Linked DNA regions of Homo sapiens: region 2 is linked to region 1. Evidence: promoter capture Hi-C in 16 types of primary human blood cells and fetal thymus (Javierre and others, 2016). All regions are on one chromosome and are shown on one strand. Each heading gives the region's core, a stretch centred on a gene start or on the middle of the fragment in contact. The rest is flanking DNA. Distances are from core to core; before and after follow the strand shown.

What was found. The method cuts DNA at HindIII sites, captures the fragments that hold promoters and counts their contacts. A CHiCAGO score of 5 or more calls a contact.
Region 2: a contact is called between the fragment with the promoter of BMF here and a fragment that was not itself captured in region 1, in 5 of 17 cell types (naive B cells, endothelial precursors, total B cells and 2 more). The highest score is 8.2, in naive B cells.

Annotation. Positions count from the first base shown.
Region 1 is chr15:40,263,662-40,269,199 of GRCh38, reverse strand. It overlaps BUB1B-PAK6 (BUB1B-PAK6 readthrough), which reads right to left. Exons shown (of 10, transcript NM_001128629.3): 3 at 4,211-4,419; 4 at 2,705-3,358. The coding sequence starts at 4,414. PAK6 (p21 (RAC1) activated kinase 6) reads right to left here. Exons shown (of 11, transcript NM_001395430.1): 4 at 4,211-4,419; 5 at 2,705-3,358. The coding sequence starts at 4,414. Among named protein-coding and RNA genes, the nearest start is that of PAK6-AS1, 13 kb to the right of the region's middle. The HindIII fragment of the contact is 5,642 bases long and covers 1-4,807 here.
Region 2 is chr15:40,105,173-40,111,185 of GRCh38, reverse strand. BMF (Bcl2 modifying factor) reads left to right here and starts at 2,307. Exons shown (of 5, transcript NM_001003940.2): 1 at 2,307-2,413; 2 at 2,800-2,927; 3 at 5,095-5,391. The coding sequence starts at 5,100. RefSeq lists silencers at 2,250-2,499, 3,984-4,278 and enhancers at 3,009-3,704, 5,275-5,324, 5,545-5,594. The HindIII fragment of the contact is 6,207 bases long and covers 1-4,059 here.

The DNA.
Region 1 (5,538 bases), core at 737-3,236:
TAAAAATACAAAAATTAGTTGGGTATGGTGGAGCGTGCCTGTAATCCCAGCTACTTGGGAGGCTAAGGTGGGAGGATCACTTGAACCCAGGAGGTGGAGGTTGCAGTGAGCCAAGATTGTGCCACTGCACTCCAGCCTGGGCGAAAGAGGGAGACGCCATCTCAAATACTACTAATAAAGCCATTTATTGAGGGCTTACCACTTTGACAAGTGCCTTCAACGTACTATCTCATGTAATCCTCATAACCCTGTGGGTTGTTTGGTTGTCCTGTAGGCACTGGAACCCGCAGGACGCCCGTGGCTGCTGACTCCCATGCTGCAATCCCACTGGTGCCATGTATCCTTGACATATATCGGAGTACACGGTAGGTGCTTAACCAATGTTTGCCCTTCTGACTCTAAGTGGAACATGTCTAATCCCTGCAAGCTCCTAAAAAACTGTCTTGCCTCTTTGGTCTCTGTGCCCCCACGCCCTGTCTTCCTGATCTCTTTAGCTAGAGTGACTCCAGGCCTCACTGCCTGGGGCTAGGTACAGGAGCCCTGGAGTCTATACTCAGACCCTCCTGCAGCCATGCCTGGCACACTGCATGGCCTCTGTGGCCTAACTGCTGTTATGGAAGCTGCTGCAAGTGTCCAGAGTCAGCCCCAGTGCCAAGGGCTGCTGGCTTGATCTGGGGACTCCTGGGGTAGGTGGTGGTGGAGGAGGAGGAGGAAGGCTGATGCTCCCCATCTGTTATTGAATTTGCTTAAGGCAGTGGTTCTTAATGGGTGTGCTCGAGTGACATTTGGCAGTGTCTGGAGGCATTTTTGGTTATTCCAACCGAGGGTACCACCAACTTCTAGTGAGTAGAGGCCAGGGAGGCTGCTACAGTGCAAGGAGAGCCCACCACAAAGGATGGACTGACCTGAGCGCCTGCAGTGAGGACGCTGAGAAGCCCCGGCCCGGAGCAGCTCGGGGGGTCTCAGCTTGCCATTGAGAGGCTTGGCTTCAGAGTAGAAATCTTGAAAGATGTGTCTGAGTTGCCCAGAAGGAAACCACTCCCCTGGATTTGGAAGTATGGTGTTGCTGAGCTCGAGATAACTACCGCCTGCTCCCACAAGTATGGGGGACATCCCGGCATACCCAGCAGCAGTGGCCCATGGTGAGTACTCAGTACATTGTGCAGGGATGGACAGGCCTCTCCCCCTGCTGTGGGGTGCTGGCAGGAGCCCAGAAAGATGCAAATGAGTGCCCAGCCCAGTGTTGACAACCCCTTTCTCCAAATCCCTGAGGCCTCGCAGCAGGACTCCTGAGAGACAGAGGGAGGTCAAGCTCCGAATCTCACCTTCCCAGCAGGGTGCACTGTCCTGATCTTACGTTGGTTTTCTGGCTGAGTCTCCCCAGGGGCACAGCCTTCCAGACACCCTGCAGCTCACAGATGCTCGTGTTCCTCTCACAGATACATCAAGCCACAACCCATGGGGATCCCAACCCACTGTCCTTTAACCTAGTAGGGGACTAGAGTGCACAAAGCTCAGAACTTTCTCTTTTTTTTTTGAGACGGAGTCTCGCTCTGTCTGTCCCCCAGGCTGGAGTGCAGTGGTGCGATCTCAGCTCACGGCAAGCTCTGCCTCCCGGGTTCACGCCATTCTCCTGCCTCAGCCTCCTGAGTAGCTTGGACTACAGGCGCCCGCCACCGCGCCCGGCTAATTTTTTTTGTATTTTTAGTAGAGACGGGGTTTCACCGTGTTAGCGAGGATGGTCTCGATCTCCTGACCTCGTGACCCATCCACCTTGGCCTCCCAAAGTGCTGGGACTACAGACGTGAGCCACCACGCGCGGCCGCCCAGAACTTTCTCTGAGTACCTCAGCTGGCAGGCAGTGACCCAGAGAGGTTGTAGTCCGGGTCATCCCCAAACCCACACCCTGTGCAGGCTGGGCCACACTCACCCCACCGATGACAGGGGAGTACCCAGGCTTGTCTTAAAGCCCTCCCAGGAGGGAGGGGAGGCTCCATTACCCATGCCACTGTCAGCAGCCGTTTCTTAGGACTGCCTTTGACCCTCCCAGGAAGGAGCTAAAGAACAAGTGGCTGCTGTGCTTGTAAAGCCTTCATACGCAAGAGTCATGAGCCAAGAGGGCCCGGGCCGGACAGGCAGCCCCAGAGCACTCCCCACCTTCCTTCTCTGACTCACTCTCCATCATGCCTGGGGGTGACTCACCCTCTCTCTATCAGTCTCCTCCTCTGCCAAATGGGAAAAGAGGTTACTGTCACTATCAACAGGATGCTGGAGGGCCTGGAAGAAGCAAAAAGGTGCGCTCCACTCTGCCTGCCAAGAAATGTCACCACGGGGGCTCCCTTCACCCTTTCCTTTCTCACAAGAAAAATGTGCGTCTGAAGCAGTCACACATGCCACAAGTCGGCCTCCTGCTGCCCCTGGACTAGGCAAATCCAGCTTTTCCTATGGCCACACACTTGGGAACAAATACTGACAGAAATGGGAAACAACACAACAGCCACAGAGAAAAGAAGGAAAGGAAGGGAGGGAAGGAGGAGGCGAGCCACCCTCCTTAGAGAAGAGGTTACCGTGCACATTTCTGCCGCCTTAGGCGGAAGCAGTCCAGGGAGCCTCTTTGCCAGTCCTCCAAGGGGAAGGCTAGGCAAGGCCTGTGTCCCTACACCCACTCCCCAGTGGACACCTGCAGGCCAGGCTCCTGACTTACCTTGCTCTGTGGTGGAGGGCCTGGCTTGCTGCTGCTTGGAGGGGCTGTGGCAGCAGTGGACAGGAACATGCTTCGGAATAGCCTGCGCTTCAGGCTGCTCTCCCGGGTCTTAGGGCTAGGGCTGCCTTCCCCACCTGGCCTGCCTGTGGCTGAGCCCACCAGGCAGGACTGTGGCCGGGCCTCCTCAGAGCCATGCTTGGCAGCCTTCATTCCATGCCTATTGGTGCCCGTGGGGGGCGAGGCTCCTGGTGGGGAGCTCTGCAGGCAGGCACCCAGCTGCAGACAGCGCTGCGAGGCACCCTGAAACTCGGCGGGGCCCAGGGACTGTGCCTTTGCAGCCAGCCCATTGGGCAGGACCCGTGGGCTCTGTGGCTCGGGCCACGGCATCTGCTTGTGGCCTGCTGGTGTGCCCCCGTTGCAGCTGAGGTAGAGGCCGTGGGGGTCAGTGCGCTCAGACTGGGGGCTCTGGAGGTACATGTCTGGGTCGGTGGCCCAGTGCTCATCCCCCAGCAGCCCCAGGGACTGTGCCCGCCGCCGGCTGGTGGGGCTGCGGCCACGCAGGGTGTTGGAGCTGATGACTGACAACTTCTGGATGTCGTTGAGCAGCCCCGAGATGTAGCCATCCACAGGCATCGCGCTGCCCCGCACCACTGTCTGTAGGGGGAAGAGAAAAGAGTGTGTGGGAGCTGCCCAATTGTGGCAGGGAGGGGTGGCTGGGAGATCAGGGTCAGAGAATGTCCCTGGGGGCCCTGGGGAGGACCACCTAAGGACCTTCCCTGCTGTGTCATCCACCCATTAATTTTTCCATAATTTATCAGGGCCCACCGTGGGTCCCGCCTGTGCTGGATGCAGGGATGCGGGGAGAAGGCCCAGCGTCAGCAGAGCAGATGGTGAGTGCCATGGGGCTGCATCCAGCATGCCCAGGGGTGTGGTCGGCTGGGCCAGGGAGCTGGAGCTCAGGGGGCGGGGCTCCATTCTCTAGCTCCACGGGTGGCTGGGAGAGATGTGCCCAGCCCTCTGAGGAAGAGACACCAGGCCGGGGGCTCCTCCACACACACTGGCTTCGCAGCCTCCAAACCCTGATAGGGCCCCTGACCCCACCTTCTACCAGGCTCTTGGGTCTACTAGTCGTGACCCTCACAACTAAAATTCTCCTGGTCTGGGAGAGCCCTCAGTCCCTATGGGGCTGCAGGTCCAAATATTGAATGGGACACGTCCTAAAAGACTATTCGTTGTCATCTGAAATACAAATGCAATTGAGCATCTCACATTTTCATGTGCTGAATCTGGCAACCCCACCACCCTGCAGAGAGGGTCTCCCCAGCCTCCTTCGCCCTGGCTTACCCAGGGAGAGAATGGCAGGCTGACAGGCAGGGAGTTAAAACAGCTGATTAACTGATAGCTGTGAAGTAGGTGGTTCCTCCAGGGGCCTTTCTGAGGTTTAGCCAGGCATGGTTGTCTGAGTACTGGGAGAGGCTGAACCTCATCCCTGCCGGCCCCTCTTACCTTCATGGGCTGGAGCTGCACCCGTGTGATTCGCGAAGGGTCCACCACGGGCTTGGGGCGCCGCAGTGTGTCCAGGATGTTCTGCCATTGTGGGGGGAGGCCCACAAACTTGCCTTCTTTGGGGTCGAAGGAGGTGTGGACACGGTGCTGGAAGTTCTGTGGCGCTGAGATCTCAGGGCGTTTCTTCTTTTTCTTGCGGAACATGGTGCCTGTAAGTGCAGAGTAAGGTTGAGCTCCCTCCCGGGAAAGAGGGGTGGCTGCAGCAGGGCCTGGGGCACCAGGTTCAGGGCTCCCTCCCCTCCCCCAGCACAGCTCCCCTAGAAGCCTAGGGCTTCCCTCCACCTCCATCTCTGCTTCCTCAGGGAAATGGCTGGCTCCCAGCAGAACAGTCCCAGAAACAACAAACGTGCCATAAATAAGCCAGTGCAGACTATAAACAAGGAAAAGAGGTGTCTTCTTGCCTGTGCCAAGTCCCCTATGGAGCAGGCAGACTCTGGGGGTGTGTTTTTATAAAATCCAAAGCCCATTACAAGTATCATTCCACTGTCTGTCAACGAATTTTAAAAATGGGGAAAGAGGGAGGAAAGTTAGCAAGCTTGTTTTATGAAACGAGTATGACCTTGATTCTTAAAACCAGATAAGGAGAGTGCAAGAAAAGGAAAATTTGACTCAATATCATTTAGGAACGTAACTATGAAAATCTTAAAACTATCGAATTGAATCCAACAGTATATTAAAGTTATTTTTTTGTTGGCTTTTTTTTTTTATTACAACTCAGCTTTGTCCCAGGATGGTTGAACCTGTTAATATGATACGTTAATAAAAAGCCAACCAGCTGATCACAGACATGCTGCCCGGTGTGGGACTATTATGTATCAGGGAGCCCCCAAAGGGCCTTCATGGTTACCATGTGCTTTACCTCAATTCCAGAAAGGCCCTGAGCCAAGAGGATAGCCTGGGGTGGGTGAGGGGCAGCTAACTTAGGGGTAAAGCTCTCCAGAGAAGGCAGAGAGCACCACCTCCCCTTGACACTCTTCTCTCTGGTATTGGAGCTCTATGTAAAACATCACCTGGGCCGGGCATGGTGGTTCATGCCTGTAATCCTAGTACTCTGGGAGGCCGAGGCGGGTGGATCACCTGAGGTCAGGAGTTTGAGACCAGCTTGGCCAACATGGTGAAAACCTGTCTTGACTAAAAATACAAAGAAATTAGCCGGGCCTGGTGGCACGTGCCTGTAGTCCCGGATACCCATGGGGTTGAGGGAGGAGAATCGCTTGAACCCAGGAGGCTGAGGCTGCAGTGAGCTGAGATTGCCCCACTGCACTCCA
Region 2 (6,013 bases), core at 1,058-3,557, 160 kb after region 1:
CAGGTGGGTCAGGAGAGCTACGATGGCCCCAGCCCTCAGGGCCTGTGCTGTCCCAGAGGGCAGATTCAGAGCTGCTGTGGCCTTGAGTTTCACTCTTGAACCGAAGGAATGCTCAGGGGCACCACTGGCCAGCCTGAGACACTGGTCTGATAGGAAAGCAAATGAGAAGAGAAGGATGGAAGGAAGGAGCGGAAGGGAGTCGGTGCATTGGAAATCACGGAGGGCTGCCGGTGCCCTTCACAGAGGCTAGGTTTGGTTTCTGTATCTCCCTACATGTAGCAGGAGTGCAAGGTCACTCTGACCAGCTCAGACATGCACTTTTGGCCAAGCCTCTGGGTAAAATAATATACCTCCTTTTGGCTTAGTGCCTTTTGCTGGAAATCTATCAATTTCGGGGGACTGTGCTACTGGCTAACCTTGACTCCCCACTCTTTCCCTTTTCCCTCTTTGTCCTTTGGAGACAGTATTTTTCTATTCTAGCAACCACAGCCCTCAATATGGCTGGTTCATTCTGTTTCAGGTGACTTCTGAGGGAGCAAAGGAAAGAATGATGGGAAAAAGGTACAAGGAGACTTCAGGCTCTATTGGGCTGAAGGTCCCAGCTCCACTGAACTTAAATCTAAGTTTACAACCCAGAGAGCAGCTCGGTGGTCAGAGCACTGCTGAGCCCTACTGCCCCTGGTGGGTCAGGGTTGTTGCAGGACTGGCTCCCTCTCACTGCTCTCTGGACTCATCATTTTATCTTTCCTAAAACTCAGGCTTGGTCAAGTCACTCATCTCCAATAAAATCTTTGCTGCCTCCCCTTTATAAAATACAGATTCTTCAGTCTGGCATTCCAGGGACACCTCTGTAGTCTGACCTGAACCCACCTGCCCATGCCTACCGTTCGTAAATCTCAGTGTGCACCCAATGATCCAGTCACCAAGCCTCCCTCTGCTCCCTGCACAGGTAAGCTCTCCAGCTCAGCACTTCAGTCTGCTACCCTTAGGCCTGGGCTATTCTTTTTTATTTTATTTTATTTTTATTTTTTTGAGACGGAGTCTCATTGTCGCCCAGGCTGGAGTGCGGTGGCGCTATCTCCGCCCACTGCAACCTTCACCTCCTAGGTTCAAGCAATTCTCCTACCTCAGCCTCCCAAGTAGCTGGGATTACAGGCATGCGCCACCACGCCCGCCTGATTTTTGTATTTTTAGTAGAGACAGGGTTTCCCGTGTTGGCCAGGCTGGTCTCCAACCACTGAGCTCAAGTGAACCACCCGCCTCGGCCTCCCAAAGTGTTGGGATTACAGGCGTGAGACATGTGCATCTGGTTTTCCTTATTGAAAAATATTTCCCATTCAATTTAAAAGCTGTCTCCCTGAGGCCTTCTCCAGCCTTTGTATTCTGAATTTTTCTGCATTCCTCAATAGTCATTATCCTTGGAATGAATACAATTCCAATAACTTTTCACTATTTTCAGGGCTACCTCTCCTAGTAGACTGTAAGCTCCTTGAGGGCAGACGCCAGGTTTCTGGCACTCAGCCCAATATCTGGCACAGAGTAGGTGCTCGGTAAATGCCTGTGAAGTAGCCCATAGACTCCCTTACGCGGTCTGCAGGACATGCTGCTCTCCTGGCAGCACCAGCACAGTCTCTAAATGCTGCCATATGCGAGATATGTGTCAACCGCTCAAGCAGCCCCGGCCTTCTTGAGCGCTCCGCTTCTCAGCCAGGTGCTTATTTTGCCAGTGCCCACGCCCAGTCAAGAAGAGGACCTAAGGGCTCCCCTGGATGTGTTTGTTTCAAACACACCTTCAGCTTTGGAGCTGCAGTTTTCTTCCGACCTGCTCGGCAGGCGGGAGGGAGCTTTCCCCTGAGGCTGGGATCCCATAGGGACCCGCACCCTGCACCCTGCACCCACTGGACGCACCAGCCTCATAAAAAAACTCCCCGCCTCCTTCCCCCCTCCCTTTGTGGACGCGCAGCAATTATTCTGCCCATTGCCGTGAAAAAGAAGACAAAAGTTACTTTGGCGCCCCCTCTCCCACACCTAATACAGAGGATTCAGGGACTCTCTGGCGCTTCCAGAGCCTGTGTTAGGGACAGAATCCGCACTGGCGACGGCGCTCCGACTGCGCTTCTGGCGACGGTCGGAATTTTGCTCGGCCCCTTGCAATGTTTCCATGGGAAGGTTCGTACATTCGTGACCGTCCCTGGCAGCGGCCCAGCCCGGGACTTGGCGCTTCACTCGCCATTGGTCAGTCCTCGGCGTGACGCGCAGGGGGGCGGGGCCTCATCAGCTGTTTGCGGGATGCCCCGAGCAGGCGTATTTTGGAAACAATACCGCACCGTGCGGAGTGGCCTCCTCCCGCCCCGGCCTGTGCCCGCCGCCGCCGCCGCCCCTGCCTGCGCCTCCCGCCTCCTGCCGCAGCCCGGTGAGCGCCCGGGTGGCCGCCGGGGGCCGGGCGGAGTTGGATCGCAGCTCCTTGGGGAAGTGGGGAGCGGAGTCGCGCTGCGCACGGGGGCCCGGGAAGGGTTTGGGCTGCGGACGTCTGGGGTGACCATGAAGAACTGGGGCGCTGGGGTGAGGGAACGGGGTGCAGAACCCACAGTTGGGTGCGCTGCTCCAAGAGGGAACTTGGGGGTAGCATTTGGGACTCGAAGGAGTTGGGTCCAGGTAGGCAGGGGAACCTGGGGTGCACTGCTGAGCAGACCTGGGCGCCCGAGAACGGCCCAGCCTCTGGGTCTGACTTTGGGATAGGACAGGAGCTGTGGGGCATCCTGCCTCTCTGCGGAGTCTGAAGGCTCCTCTCCTTAACAGCTGGGCTTTTTCCCTCCTTCCCAATCGAGTCTGGGCGTCCAGCCCCCGAGTGCTCGTCACGCTGGACCCTGGCGCGGAGCCCTGGCATCACGACTCGGAGGCCGAGACTCTCTCCTGGAGTCACCCAGGTCTGGGGTGTGTGTGTGTGTGTGTGTGTGTGTGTGTGTTCCTAGTCACTGTCGAGGATCTGGGTGTCTGACTACTGCCTTCTCCTAAGAGGAGGAGGAGTCTAAGTTCAGCATCCCTCTTCCAGCCCTTAGGGGTTGGGATGGCTGCAGCGGGGCTTGAGTTCCTTTGCTAGGAATAAAGCATTCCCTGGCCCTGTTCTCAGGAAGTGCCCTCCTCCTCCCACCGCTCTGGACATCACCTCTTAAGCTCAGGAGAAAAATTTCACCCTCTCTTAGTTTACCCTTGACCTTGGCCAGCACCCCTCCAGAGGCGCCCACCTACAGGCAAGCCACCTACAGTTTGTGGAGCGTGAGAGGGGTCCCTGGGGCTTGCAGAGCCACACCTTCTGGCTGCACCTCCCCCACTGTCCAGTCCAGGCAAAGGTTGAACTTTGGGGCTTTGCTGGGAGGGGGAGGGGAAGGTGATAGGCTTCAAAGGAAAAACCAAGACAATGACTCGTGCTGGTGATTGGCTTTGAGGGCCCCTTCTTAGGTCAAGATTGCTAGCCTGAGAAGAGGAGGTTGGAGAGCTGGAGGGGAGCCCCTGCCAGGTGACTGGCGGGACAGCACTTGGTCCTTTCATCAGGAAATTTTGTTTCCTGTTGTTAATAAGCTGGAGTGCACCACCTCACCCCCCTCCCCATACACACACACACACACACACACACACACACACACACACACACTTGGGAAACACGGTCCAAAGAACACCACGTGGCTGCTTGCCATCCTAGCAGGCATCTCCTCATTCTCCAGGGAAGAGGGCACAGACAGGACCATAGACAGCTCAGGGACAGGGATGGGATGGGACGAAGGCAGGGCCCAAGCAAGCAGCTCACAGCTTGTGTTTGGCAAAGGCAGCATTCTGAATTGAACTGAGATTCTTTTAGCTACTTCACCAATCCATAGACCATTTGGCTTGTTCTTCAAAGGCAAGAGACTAGGGGACAGAACCCCCAGGAATCTCTAATTGAGTCTGACAAGAATGAAATTCATCTCTTTTTATCCTTAGCTGTTCAGGTGGTTGCTGCTTCTGGCTGCTGCAGGGGCCCTAAGCAGTTCCTGGTATGTGTAGGGAGCTGGGTTGGAAGCTTAAGATGCTGAGTAGCTCCAAGCTCAGACTTTCAAGAGCCATCAGGTGGAGCAAGAGGAACTTCTTTATCACCAAGAAACTCATATCAATAACTTCAGCAGTATAGGCAGTGAGTGAGGTCACAGGGAGAGGGCTGAATTTCACTTCCTTCTGTAAGACCAGTTGTACCAGTCTCAGGTTCAGAGCTGGCAGGAGCGGGAGGCTGTGGAATCAGGGATTTGAAGTCGTGGAGACTAGTGAGGAGACTTAGTTGGGAGAGGCTGGACCTACCCTCTAGGCCAAACTTTGGTGGGCAGACAGCTCAACTCTGCTCAAAGAGAGCCGAGACGGCAGCTGCAATGACTAGCTTGGGTCTTTATCCCCTCTCCCAGGACACATTCTTACCACACTGCAGAGCCTGTTTGTTGTGTTGTGCAAGCAAGGGGTGGAGATTAGAGTAGATGGGCAGCAGGGCGGGGCTTAGAGGTTTGGAGGGAACCTGGCTGTCCTAGGATTGCTGGCTTTTGTTTTTGCTGCTGAGCCTGGAGCTCAGCTCAGACTGAGATAAGAATTTCCTTGGGACAATGACTCTGTATGTGTGTGTGTGTGTGTGTGTGTGTGTGTGTGTGTTGTGAGCACTGTATGTATAGCCAGTCACAGCACCCTTGACAGCAACTTACAGAGGCTAGTCTTGTTTATATTTTCCCAGGTACCCTGCATGCATATAGCTGCTGATTCTACTCCTGCTATTGCTCACAACCCTCAGAGTCAAACTTTGTGACCGGCCTAGGTCAGAAAACGTGATCAAGAAAAAGGGTGGTTCCAGGCGGGCCCAGGGAAGAGGTGTGGAGAGCCCCTGAACATTCAGGCAGTCCACATTTGGGGAGTGAATGTCACCCTTAGCAGTGCTTTATTACCAGGGTTGTATGTCATCAGTATGTGGTCCGGCCAGCTCAAATAAGAAGGGGGAGTATGGTAGGAAGAAGGGAAGGGGAGTCCTTCCAGGTATGGCCCTGGTGGGGCAGCAGCCCAGATGCCTGCGTTGCCCCCTCACAGGAGAGATGGAGCCATCTCAGTGTGTGGAGGAGCTGGAGGATGATGTGTTCCAACCAGAGGATGGGGAGCCGGTGACCCAACCCGGGAGCTTGCTCTCTGCTGACCTGTTTGCCCAGAGCCTACTGGACTGCCCCCTCAGCCGACTTCAGCTCTTCCCTCTCACCCACTGCTGTGGCCCTGGCCTTCGACCCACCAGCCAGGAAGACAAAGCTACCCAGACTCTCAGCCCAGCCTCCCCCAGCCAAGGTGTCATGCTGCCTTGTGGGGTGACTGAGGAACCCCAGCGACTCTTTTATGGTGAGTGCTCTCAGCCTCAAGACTCCTCCCATAGAGACTGGGGGAAAAGAGGGGACTTTCCCTCCCCAAACCTGCCCTTTGCTGTTTCCTTCCCCCAAAGTGATCAGCGGGGCTGTTGATTCCTTGACTTCCACCTGCTGCCTCTCGGCTTGTTATTGCTCCTCACCTGTGCCTCAGACCCCCCAAAGGGCAAATTGTCCCCTCCTGGAGGGATCCTTGGGTCCATGGTATCTCCTTTTACATCTTGTGCCCCTTGAGTGGCCTGGCCTTTAGTGTCCTAGCAGTGACTTGCCTACTATAAAGTGGCTCCTGTTGCCCTGGAGAAGTCTGGGGGATCTGTGACTGGCTGTTGACAATGAAGGGAAAAACCCAGCCGGTTCTGGGAGGGAGGGTTCCCAAAGGCAGAAGGTGGCCCCCAGTTGCCACATGGGACTTTCTGTGTGTGAAAGGGGAACTGGAGAAAGAGGTTGGGCCTGCCTGGGCCCAATGCCAGGAGAGGGGATGCTTCCAAGGCTAAGACAAGACCCCTTCATTTGTGGGCTTAAATAGTTTGTTTTATGAGAAATATGCCCTCCTCTGGCAAAAGGGCAGGGTTAGACAGTCTGTTTTCTTCTATTAGCAC